3 separate regions of the Homo sapiens genome follow, and regions 2 and 3 are each linked to region 1. The links are contacts of gene promoters, found by promoter capture Hi-C in blood cells and fetal thymus (Javierre and others, 2016). All regions are on one chromosome and are shown on one strand. The core of a region is centred on a gene start or on the middle of the fragment in contact, and the rest is flanking DNA. Distances in the headings are between cores, read along the strand shown. Region 1 holds the start of ZNF451 (zinc finger protein 451). Region 2 overlaps PRIM2 (DNA primase subunit 2). Region 3 overlaps PRIM2 (DNA primase subunit 2).

Region 1 (4,269 bases), core at 718-3,217:
ATAAGAAAAAAATTCTCTTCACAAATATACCAAGATTCAGGAAGAACCTGAAATATCTGTCCTCAAGAGCCATGGAAACCTGTTATTAAACATACTTCAGCGCATGGTGAAGGAAAGGACAGGATACAATTCACCCCCATCCTCTACTCCAAATCCGTAGAAGATCAAAATGAAAAGGAGAGAGTACAACATACACTGGTAAAGGGAAAGAAATTCAATAAAACAATCTTGTGAAGGACTCCTAAACAAATCTATTAAAATACCATACAAAAATGAATTACCAAAATGGCCCTAATGCTGGGAAAGAAACTGTTTAATAACCAATTTTACAAGGTTTCCCAGCATCCACCATAAATGCACATCTGACACTCAACGAAAAATTCTACAGCTTGAATACCAAACTGCAACTAACTACGGCATTCCAAAAGACGAGTTGGGGACAGAACCGTTTTCTGCCTGGCGAGCTGAGATACCACTTTACGCAAAGCCTTTCTAAAACTCCAATAATTATGGAAGAAAATCACCCCAAAATACATCATAAAACACTCTCTTCTGCTTTGGAAACCCATGCTGTACAAAGTGTGCTCAGAAATCCTTATGTCCCTGCACTTGTCTGAAAATGAAGATTCCTAGGCCCCCGCCTGGAAATTCTGATTCGGTAGGTCTGCAGTGGGGCCCAGGAATCTGCCTGTTTATACTTACTAAGGCTTGAAAACTACTGTCTCAAAGGGAACAAACTCAGAAAAATAGAGCATGTTCCCAGTGATGTAGGATTCTTCATTATGAGCATCAACTGTACTATGCCGTAACATGATGATCTCAGAGGTTAGAGAAATCTTCAAGCTATTTGCCTTCATGTTAGAAGCACCATAACGCTAAGATTCTGGGCTCTCACAACCCTTCCTGTTTTCTACGTCCTTGCTCATCATTAGCAGCTCCTTCCTCCGTGTCGCCTTTAGAAGTTACTCTTGCTCCATTTCAAAACAGCGTTTTAGACACCAGCGTTTTTATCTTAAGTTTAAATGAAAGGCAGGGGGCGAGATTAAGTGTACAGCACGTTCTTTAGGACGTGCTCTTTGTGATGGCTACGGGGGTGGCTCAGATAGCTCTTTTGGTAAATTTCCCAATCCTGCGCCATGCTCCAGTGTCTAGTATGTATTAGACACTCATGAACATTAAATGACCAGGTGAGGTAACATTACATAATGGCCCACCATAGTCTTTTACTCTGGGAAAACCCCAATCATCATTGCTACTTACACTGACAAACTGAATGTCGTCTTCATTTTCATCCGTTGTTGACTCAGATGCCTCAGGGCCAGCTGGAGGGACAGATTCTATTATCTATAAAAACAAGCCAAAACATGCTTATCTGTTCAGCCACATTCGTGTAGGAAGAGAGCGTTTCCGAAAGGAACAATTAAAGACAGAGAGCTCTTGAGGAAAACGAACTGAGCACAATTTCACGGAAACCCGACTAGGAACGGAACTCGAGCTCTGGCTCTTGCCACAGAGTGTGCGGAGCTGCAGGGACCCAACGCTGAAAACGCGTTAGTTACCAGCCTCTCACAATTCCCCTTATCTACTCCAGGAGGAACGCAAGCTCAACACCGAAGGGCAATCCTGCCTTAAAACGTCGCTCCCACTGGCCCAGCCGCGGCCACAACGAACGCCAGGGCCCGTGCGGGGGGCCGGGCGGCCATTGTTGCTGCGGGTTCCTCGCTCAGACACGCACCAGGCCCCAGAGCTGGGCTCGGCCCAAGACACTGAAGAGGTATCGCCCCGAGGCTGCGACGGAGCACCAGGCCTCAGACCGCAGAAAACACAAACCCTTCGCGGTTCGCCTCTGAGAACGCCAGGACCCTCACTCGACTACTCACCTCCGACCCCGGGTCTCCCATGTCTCCGACGGCCGCGCTGACAGCACCACTGCTCCTGCTGTCCCTGCCGCCGCCGTCGCCACGAATCCCCTTCCCGCCCTGCACCGCCTGGCGCTACCGGGACCCGCCCCTGCGTGAGCGCCGACGCCACCGGCGGAAAGAGACGCAAAACCTCTTCAAAGGAGGAGCGGCCCTTACTGGCCCGCTATGCCCCCGGAGCCGCTTTCTCTCACTCCCGGGCTTCCTTCCCCGCGCCGCGCAGGATGCTGGGAATTGTAGTTCGGGTCCGCCCCGAGACCGCCCCTCGCCGGAGAGGAAAAGAACCATGCGCCTAAAAGACGCCAGCTGCAGTGGGTGGGGCGAAGCCAGGGGCCAGCTGGGTCCTGTGAGATAGCGAAGCACTGGGAAGATGTGGGAGGATGTGAAGGAGGGTTTGAGTTGGTATTTGTTTGGTTTTGGTATGGTTGTGAAGCGCAGCTCATTGATTTTTCTGTTTTAGCCCTGAAGGTGGGTGGTGGGAACGGATTTCTCTTTTTTTCCTTTCATTTTTAAATTTATGTATTTACTCATTTTTGAGGACAGGGGCTATGTGGAGGTTTAGCTGAATCCTAGGATCAGGAAAGAATCTGAAGTATCCTTACATTACACACCTCTTCCCTAGCGTCAGTCTCCCAGGCCCTGCCAGTATTAATACACCTGAGGAAGAAAATAGGGATGGGAAATCCAGGGCCCAATAGGAAAGGGAACCGAGGTCTACCTAACTATCACTAAACCCTAGCCAGTGATTTTGAAATGCACTTTTTCAATATTCTCAGATATACTGAGAGAATATGAGAGATCTATTTATAGACTGCTGTAAGGTTGACCTTTTAACCTTTTGTGTGTTCACACTCATAAACCAGTCTATAAAATAGATCTTTTATATTCAACTATGCATTTAATCTGTTCTCAGGTAATACCTTACCAAAAATTTAAAAAGGTTTTTTAAAAAAACACACCAATCGTTGTCAATAAAGTTTATGAAAAGAATTAAGTGATAACATTATTTTAGGCCAGGCGGGTCCTCACACTCTGGGAGGCCGAGGCGGGCGGTTCACTTAAACCCAGGAATTCGAGACCAGCCTGAGCAATAAGAGGGAACCTCGTCTCTACAAAAAATACAAAAATTAGCTAGGCGTAGTGGTCCTTGCCTGTAGTCCCAGCTACTCAGGAGGTTTAGGTAGGAGAATCGCTTGAGGCCGAGAGATTGAGATCCAGGCTGCAGGGAGCCAAATTCATGCCACTGCACTGCAGCCTGGGTGACAGAGCAAGACACTGTCTCAAAAAAAAAAAAAAAAAAACACAAATTATTTAACATCTCAGATTCCTGTTTTTGTTTGTATGCAAAACTACCATCTGATTGCCTAAGCCTGTAGTAATTATTGTTTAATATTTGACATTTCCTGCATTTCCACCAAGTGCTTTATGACTTTAGTTACTTTCTACCTAGTAAGTTTGAGACTTGTGGAAGCCAATTGAGAATGACAGACGTGCATGGGGAGTTCTTCAAAAGCTGTGTGTAAATTAAATATTTTTAAAACGTTAATGTGTAGGCAAAACTTGTATTTAAAAGCTCTTCCTAGTGGGCTGGTGAAAGTGTCCTCTAATATTTAATCAGTTGAGGCAGGAGTTAATGGGTAAAATTCTTGGAAAACAAGCAGTATGTGGCTAGACCCAAAAACTTCTCACACCATACAACTCAGTAACTGTAGTTGCAGGGATTTTCCTGAAGATACATCACAGGTTTTTTTATAACAGCAAAAACTGGAAAATATCTAAATGTCTAATAATTGGGGAATGTAATGTTTAAATTTTGGTATGTATGCTATAAAGATAACATTACAGTGTTTTATCTCCACTGAAAATGTTTACCTAACATTTCTCAAAGCATATTTTTCAAAAATTCAAGAAATATATAGGATAATTAGAACCATGTTGTATTCGTTCTTGCACTGCTATAAAGAACTACCTGAAACTGCGTAATTTATAAAAGAAAGAGGTTTAATTGGCTCACAGTTCCACAGGCTGTACAGGAAGCATGGCTGGGGAGGCCTTGGGAAACTTAAAATTGTGGCAGAAGGTGAAGAGGAAGGAGGAACCTCTTTACATGGGCAGAGGAGGAAGAAAGCAAAGCAGGGAGGTGCTACACACTTTTTAACAACTAGATCTCGTGAGAACTCACTCATTATTAGAGAACAGCAAGGGGGAAATCCGCCCCCATGATCCAATCACCTCCCACCAGGCCCCTCCCCCAATATTGGGGATTACAATTCCACATGGAATTTGGGTGAGGACACAAATCCAAACCATATCACATGTCAAGCCATCAAGAAAAGCATCCCTGAAAGAG
Region 2 (4,269 bases), core at 788-3,287, 340 kb before region 1:
GCAGGATTCAAACCCAAGTCTTTCTAGATATGCCACATAATGGCCTCATTCAAGCTTTAGGAAATTTGAATGACTTTTATACCATAAAACAAGTGAAATAAGTTGCTACACACTGTAAACCAAATAAAATATGTAGAGAAATGGTTTTAAATGTCTGTTTTGAGTGTCTTGAATAATTTAACCACTAACTTCTGTAAAGACACTAGTTTTTCACCTTTATTCAACCATTGAAACTTCTGGCCAGCTCTTTAAGGTTATAATGTAACTGCAGTTAAAGTCAAGTTTGTTTAGTAACTTCTGCTTCATACTCAAGGGAACAAATTGCTCCCCTAAGGATTCCGAAAGTGGACAAAATATGTGCTCTGCTTCCTTTCAGTAAGAGCAATAGTTTGATTTTTTTAAAAGTGTTCTAGTCTTTCAACACTATTTAAAATAGAACACAGGAAGGGGAACATCACACTCTGGGGACTGTTGTGGGATGGGGGGAGGGGGGAGGGATAGCATTAGGAGATATACCTAATACTAAATGACGCGTTAATGGGTGCAGCACACCAGCATGGCACATGTATACATATGTAACTAACCTGCACATTGTGCACATGTACCCTAAAACTTAAAGTATAATAATAATTAAAATAAAATAAAATAGAACAAAGGTTTATATACATTTTTTTCATGCCATCATTTAGCACTGGGGTTGGCAATGTGATAGTAAATGTTTTAGCTGTGAAGGCCACAGGATCTCTGTCACAACTATTTAACACTGCCACTGAAACCATACACAATACATAACGAATAGGCATGACTGTGTTCCAATAAAATTTTATTTACAAAATAAGCAGCTGGCTATATTTGGCTTGAATGGCTTTAGTGTGTCAACTCCTGATTTAGCAGGTACCTGCAAGTACTAATGGTAGAATTTAGAAAAAGCTGTATTACTTGTATTGTGAACTAAAAGTCCTAACTGCTTCTAGTAAATGTTCCTGTTTAGATTATGATATGGAGTTAGACTAGCCTTTGGGCATTCTGCTAATACAGCTTAACTACAGCAAAATTTAGTTTTCAGATCAAAGAAACAAATATTTGACTGCCTGCTATGTAGATGACAAAGGACTACTCAGTTCTTCAATGTTCTACAGGAATTTTTTTAAAAGCTTAACATCCTGTGAGGTATATAAGGTCTTAAAAAGAAAAATCTGAACATATGATCATGTTAACCTGTGAATTACAGAAATTCTTCTCAAAACTATTTTTAACTGTCATATTCTTAACATTAAAATGGAAAATATAAAAATTTTATTTTAATGCCATAATAACACTAAGGACTTTTTTTAAAGTGCAAACACTTCACTTGCTAATTGGCTATAATCAAGGCAAACAGATTTTCTTTTTGTACATTTTCTGAGAAGCTATTAAGTGTCCACTCTTTTTAGGTTTAATAGTGCCCGTCACAGAACAAGTAGAACTGAACTCCTGCCTCCCAGATTTCTCATTCAATGCCCTTCAGTCTTCTGACTTCGAAGAAAAATATGAATACAATTCTTAGTATTTCCACATACATATCCTGTTTTGAAATTTCCTCCTTTGCCATTTTCAGTAGAATCTAAACAAATTCCTTTCATGAAAGTAATTATATAACTTACCCAACCCCCCCCAAAAATGGAAAGTTTTCTCACTTTACTTCCAACTTCATTTAGTCCAATTGTTGGCAAATTTATAATCTTACTTCCTCCTCTGTCACAAACAAAAAGAAACCTCAAATGCCAGTATTTCATTCATCTCATATGTAAAAAGGCTAAATTGGTGATAACATATTACTTGGCTTAGAATACATTCATATTAAGGAAGAAAATTAATGTTTTTAATATCCTAAAATACCTACATTAGACCCAAATGTTGCAGTGATCTAAGAAGACTGCTTCAGTTTCACTCCCTTTCAGCCACAACTACCCATGCAATTTTACTAAGTCCAAAATATATACAGAAATAAAACATACACACACATACACAGGAATCTCATAAGAATGAAACAATGTTATCTTCATTAGTGAAGGAAGAGAGATAAGGTAAACACAGTGAAGTTATCAAAACTAGACCTAGGCCACAATATCAGCACACATTTAGCAGCTTTTCTATGAAAGTATCATTAGGTGCATGATGACTTACAATCCCTAGGTTTATCTCTCAAAAATGAACTGCTCAAACAAAACAAATCACATTTTTTTTTTTAAAGGCAGGGTCTTTCTCTGTCGAACAGGCTGGCATGCAGTGACACTATCATTGCTCACTGTAGCCTCAAATCCTGGGCTAAGGCAATCCTCTTACCTGAGCCCCCCAAGTAGCTGGGTGCACCTCCAGGCCTGGCTAATTGTTTAATTTTTTTGTAGGAGAGATGGAGGTCTCACTTTATTGCCCAGGCTGGTCTGAAACTCCTGGGATCAAGTGATCCTCCCACCTTGGCCTCCCGAAGTGTTGGGATTACAGGTGTGAGCCACTGTGCCCAGACTCCAAATTTTCTTTAAAAGCATGTCAGGACACTGAAATCAGAACTGAGGTAGTTCACAGTTGTTATCTAAATTGGGGACAGATAGTTAGGTTATGCGACCACCAGAGAAATGGCAATGCTTCTCTGAGTGTGCTTTCCATTGTGCTACATATAACAGAAACCTAAGAATAGTACAAATCTCTATTTGGACACATTAAAAAAAAGAGGCAATAAAACAGATGAGAAGAAATGTCAAACCCAAAGAAAAAAGAAAAGGGACACGACGAAGATTGTGTGTGTGTCTGTGTGTGTACACATGTTCACTCTTAAACTCTCCCTAAAATTATATAACCTAAAATCCAGTTATGAATGCTATATGAAAAAGCAATCTGATATGAAAGGATAATAGATCTTCAAAAACATGCAAAAGCTTTTCTGTTTTGATGTTCTACAATCAGTCCCATTAAAACTAAGATAAGATTATTTGAAGTAAATGCCTGAAGTCAACAGAGGATACACTTAAAAATTATCCAAAGAATCTACAAAACCTACATTAAGAGATTTATTTTCTTTGTCTTTTAGCCTCATTTGCTTCTAACAACAGTAGCTTTTCAAGATTTAAGAAACTCCTGCCCGGGCACAGTGACTGACACCTGTAATCCCAGCACTTCGGGAGGCCAAGGTGGGCAGATTACCTGAGGTCAGGAGTTCGAGACCAGCCTGGCCAACATAGTGAAACCTCATCTCTATTAAAAACACAAAAATATAAAAATAGCTGGGCATGGTGGTGGGCACCTGTAGTCCCAGCTACTCGGGAGGCTGAGGCAGGAGAATCACTAGTACCTGGGAGGTAGAGGTTGCAGTGAGCTGAGATTGCGCCACTGCACTCCAGCCTGGGCAACAGAGTGAGACTCCATCTCAAAAAAAAAAAAAAAAAAAAAAAACAAAGAAAGAAACTCCTATACAAAGCTAACATTACATACAAAATTACTTTCGTTTTCCATATCTTATTTATAGACAACCTTTAATCCAATGTCTTCTGGATTCTGGTTTTTTACTAGCTACTTAATGCTATGAGCAAGTATGTAAAGGGGTAGCAATTAGTTCACCTATTCCCTTCAGAATAACATTCATATATTTTAACAGTCTCTAGCAAAATACATATCTCACTCAAGCACTGATTTTTCTTAACATGACACAAAAAGCATAACCCCAAGGACAGACCCCAATTTCAGAACTAAATTCAAAGGGCTATTTGATTGTGACTGAACTAACAATTCACAGTCCCTAAAGTATCCCACCTCTCTGCTAATACCAAATGCCCTTTATCCCCCATCCCCAATTTCAACTTCCTAGCCTTGACTCTAGGCTGGCAATGTTCTACATCTGAACTAAAATAAGAAACAATTACTCAACTAGTGAGAATATAGGGGTTGGAAAATAAGCAAATGAAAAGATGTTCAACAGCACTAGCCATTGGGGAATTGCAAATTGAAGCCGTGATGAGATACCAACATTATTAGATATGCCTATTAAAATGGCCAGGATTAAGCCACTCAAGTTTATGGAATTTTTGTTATAGCAGCCCAACCAGAATAAGACAGCTGCCTTCTCACTACAACCTCACAGGGTCTTTCCTCTGTTCTCACAGCCCTCCTGTCTCTGTCTCCCAATTTCCTTTATGGGACAACAATCAGACTGTATTAGGGCCAATCAGATTGTATTAGGGCCCACCCTAAAAGCCTCATTTTAACTTAATTGTCTCTTTAAAGGCCCTATCTCCA
Region 3 (4,269 bases), core at 1,312-3,811, 270 kb before region 1:
CAGCCAGATTCTGAGTCATGAAAGATATAATGATAACCGAAGTCTTCCAAGCCAAGCAGCTAACAGTAGCATAGTACAAAAAAAAATATGGCTTTCCTTAGCTGGAGAGGAAAGGGAGAAACTTGCTTTGAGTCAACATGAACCACTGATGCAGCCACGTTTATTCAAGCAATAAGAGTAAGGAAAAATAAATTCCAAAAAATAAATTGATTTGTAGCAATTTTCTCTTATAGACCATAGGAAATCAAATCTTTGGCAATTTTTAATAAGTCAGGTGTTACTAAATTTATATTTCTATCGTATATTTCAAATTCATATGGATGGTAGAATACCAGCTATTTTTTTACCTGGTGTGAAGGGAAGGGAGGTGTTTATTCTAAAAGATGCTCAAATATATATATTTGTAACTGAAAATATTAGAAGTCAGCTCTATGGCTTTGACAAAGGTATCCTATTTGTTGACCCAATTCAATATTTTTAGTTCCTCAGAAAATTATTCAGACATTTAAAGTTGCAGTTGGCACATGATATTCCATCCATTGGAGTATCTCTGCTACCTCCTTTCTGCCTTATCTTTTAAGATGCTGTTCACAGCTGTCAGCTCAATGACGCCTTCCTACATTAATCCAGCCCATGGCAATGCCCACTTTTTTTTCCCCCTATAACCCTTGTAGACCATATTAAATATTCTGACACCAGATTATTTTACCTTGTTCTGTTTCCTGAAATCAGTCTTTTCCTGCTCTCTTCAACTATAAACATGTTAATGCAAATCTTCCATAACATACAACACAATGCTGGACACACATAAAGCATTTATTAAATATTAGCTATAAAATAATATAAAGGACAACAGTGGCTCCAGAATTTCTACATAGGATGTGCTTAGGAGTGGGATTTTGCTAGGGAACTTATCTTAAAAGACACATTTGCATAGAAAGCACACTTTTTATCAATTGTTCATTAATCTGGGGTACCTTGGTGGGGAAGGGATTGAGAGATTAAAGCCCCTTCAAGCCACTTCTTGACATTCACAGGGACTTAAAAAGTGTTTCCCAACCATCTCATCCATGTGCCCTGCATCAAGAAGGAGAAAGAGGCTACTCACACATTTATCTTACTTCAAGGTCCACCAAGCTTCCTCCCCTTGGTTATACCCTATCCTAAGTCACGGTTCTAATCCTACTTACAGTGCCACAGTGTCCAAGCGCTTCATCTGCACTTAAAACATGGATTCAAATATAGGAAGAGGCCACGATGCACTCAGAAAGGATAGTATCCTCAGAAGGCACATCCAGTTTATAAGTGCTGTAACACTAGAGTGTGACAGGAAGCAGCACTACCTACACTGCCAAAGGGCCATTCTTCTGCACCCCATCCATAGCTTTCCTTCTATTCCTCTACATTAGAAATACAATATAAGAGCTCCTATCAGCCTTGAGAAACCTATAACATTAACATGAATCTCTCAGTGTCAGCCATCATTCTTATAATGTTCTAAATATTTATTTTATTCACACTGTAATAAAATACCCGCTCCTTCCAAAGCCTGTTCTCCTACCCTACCTAAATGTGGCCATTTTCATTCGATGCCCCCCAAAACTGCAAAAAAAGAGAAAACACTCAGTTCATTCATTTTAGATCCATCTTATTGTTCTCTGTAAAGATCCTGACATTGATCACTTACTCAAAATATGTCACTTGTTCTTATCTATACTTTGCTTGCTACTGCTAGTGTTATCAAAAAAAGGGCAAAATTATTATTTCTATTTTGTAGAGAGAAATAAGAGCAGCCTTGGGAAACTTAAAAGAGAATTTTGATGCTGTATCTTGTTCACTTTGTTTCTTGCCTCCAGTAAAATCATTACAATCCAAAAGTGATACAGCTTAAGGTATCCAGAAAGCTGTGCAGCAAACACAAACAGCTGTGTATAGGTTTGTATTCATCCACGATACTCCCATTCCTTAAGCAAAGTGTCATAATAGCAGCAAATCTGTCTGCCAACACAAAAGGGTATTATTAGGCCTCAACTGTCCTGCTTTCCTGGACTTACGAAATTGTATTTTTTTATTTTATCTATTTTCAGTTTTTCAGTAAGAAATAATTTCCATAGATTTCCATATGAATTAAAATCTCCCCCTTACCTTCCATAATCCAAACTCCATATATCAAGAGCCAATATAAAGCATTAAATGCTGAAAATAAAAGGAGAAAAATCTGCAACCATTTAGAAATGGCATACAAAAATTAAGAAGCCTGTATAATGTGGTGTCTATAGTAACTTATGATTGTTTCATTCATTTATTTATACCTCTTTCTACTTAAGAAGGTGTTTTTAAATCCCCCATAGCACCTACACAGTACTCTGAACATATTGGTATTCACCATCTGAGCTAAATTGAATTTAGCAAGCAAAAAGGACTGTCCACAATCTATACTATGAAGTACACTCATTAAACTTGGTCTGCTTTAAATTTTGGCAAACTCTAAGGGGCTAAGAGCACCACATAAAAACATCAACCTCATTATCTCATACCTTATACCTTATTACATTACTTTCCACTGTCCTAAACATAATAAAGCTGTCTTTGGAAGAATTTAAAGGATTCTCAGACTCCTGGCAAATCTCTTCTTCAAAATGAAAAAGCCACAAACTTCTCAGCTAACTTTTAAGCAGATTCACCAATCAAATTTCTGAAAGGTGAAAAGCATTTATCAACAATTTTCCCATTTCTGTCCCTTCTAAGTAATCTGGGCTCCTCAGAGTTGTCTTCTCCACTCAACTAATTATTGGAATTTCATTTTCCATATTATTTAATTGTTAATAGTATCTTTCATTACATTTTATATAGTCTTTCCAAATCATAGTACAGTTGTTTTGAGGTATTTAGGATACACTGATTGCTATTTTCAGCTCAAACTCAAGAAGCCAGAAGCTCTAGCTACCAGTTCTAATTATCTATCACTGTATAACAAACTATCCCAAAACTTAACAGTTTAAAATAACAGCCATTGTATTACAGCTCTCAATTCTGATGGTCAGGTATTCAGAAAGGGTGCTGCTGGCAATGTCTCTACTCCATGTGGCACCAAATGAAGTCACCAGAGGTACTGAGCTGGTGAACAGATTAATCTGGAGGTTCTTAGATGGCTCTGCTCTCATGTATGGCACCGTGACAGGGATGCTTAAAAGGCTGGGCTCAGGTGGGAATGTCAACATGCCTCTCCAGCATGGCAATTACTAGTTACTGCCAGGTTTCAGAACAGATTCTCCATCAAGTCTACTTAGAATTCTTAATGGCATCCCAGAGCTCCTGAAGACTGTGTACCAGAGACAGAAAGTGGAAGCCCCCAGTTTCTTAAAGCCTGTACCCAGACACTGGTACTCTGTCACTGCTGCCATCCATACTCTATTTGCCAAAACCCACTCACATCAAGAGGTGGGCAGGGGAAGAATGAGGAGTTAGTATTTAAAGGGTAATGAGTTTCAGCTGGAGAAGATGAAAAAGTTCTGGAGATGAATGGGGATGGTTGCACAACAATGTGAATACACTTAATGACAAAGAACTGTACACTTAAAAATAGTTTAAAATGTAAAGATTATGTATATTTAACCATAATTTTTTAAAGCTACTGAGATTCAAGGGGTGGTGACATAGATCCCACTTCTCAATGAGAAAATATCAAATAATTTGAGGCCATTTTTAATCCACTGTACCAGCTAAGATGATCTCCTGGGAGGCAAAACATTTATTTCCTATTAGCATATATACTCCCTCCTAAATATCTTTATTATTTATATAATACTTATAGTGAAAATAATTAATTTTTACTGTACTGCCAATACAGAATATGAAATATTGGCATATTCATTCTTAAAGACCATAAATTATTTTCATTCTTAACACTTCAAAAATAATATGCAATTTTAGCTACATTAACTTCAATTACATTGAATAACTGTTAAACCCACATGAAAGCTTCAAGATGAAATAAAACTGAAAGATGTACTTGCAAATTCCAGACCACCTAGTTTGCAGCTGTGCTAGGTGTTAAAAACATCTCTCCTGTTCTGACACCCAGCATACACCAGCAACCTTCTTGAAGGATTTTGAACTTTAGAGATACACCACACACTGAATCTGGGAAATCTCACCAACCTGCAAATTTTTCTATTTTTTACTGTTCTCCAGCATCTACCAAATCAAGATTTTTATTTTCCCACTCAAAGTCTGCCTAATAAATTTTAATACAAGAGCAATCTGATG

Evidence for each region. The method cuts DNA at HindIII sites, captures the fragments that hold promoters and counts their contacts. A CHiCAGO score of 5 or more calls a contact.
Region 2: a fragment that was not itself captured here is called in contact with the fragment with the promoter of ZNF451 in region 1 in 1 of 17 cell types (total B cells); the score reaches 5.5 in total B cells.
Region 3: a contact is called between a fragment that was not itself captured here and the fragment with the promoter of ZNF451 in region 1, in 4 of 17 cell types (total CD8 T cells, naive CD8 T cells, total CD4 T cells and 1 more). The highest score is 7.4, in total CD8 T cells.

The regions. Positions count from the first base shown.
Region 1 is chr6:57,087,886-57,092,154 of GRCh38, reverse strand. It overlaps ZNF451 (zinc finger protein 451), which reads right to left and starts at 1,967. Exons shown (of 15, transcript NM_001031623.3): 1 at 1,881-1,967; 2 at 1,261-1,344. The coding sequence starts at 1,901. RefSeq lists a silencer at 1,909-1,978 and enhancers at 1,399-2,281, 2,149-2,298. The HindIII fragment of the contact is 8,135 bases long and covers 1-4,269 here.
Region 2 is chr6:57,429,608-57,433,876 of GRCh38, reverse strand. All of the region lies in intron 7 of PRIM2 (DNA primase subunit 2), which reads right to left. Among named protein-coding and RNA genes, the nearest start is that of MIR548U, 42 kb to the right of the region's middle. The HindIII fragment of the contact is 1,761 bases long and covers 1,157-2,917 here.
Region 3 is chr6:57,358,288-57,362,556 of GRCh38, reverse strand. All of the region lies in intron 5 of PRIM2 (DNA primase subunit 2), which reads right to left. Among named protein-coding and RNA genes, the nearest start is that of MIR548U, 30 kb to the left of the region's middle. The HindIII fragment of the contact is 2,844 bases long and covers 1,140-3,983 here.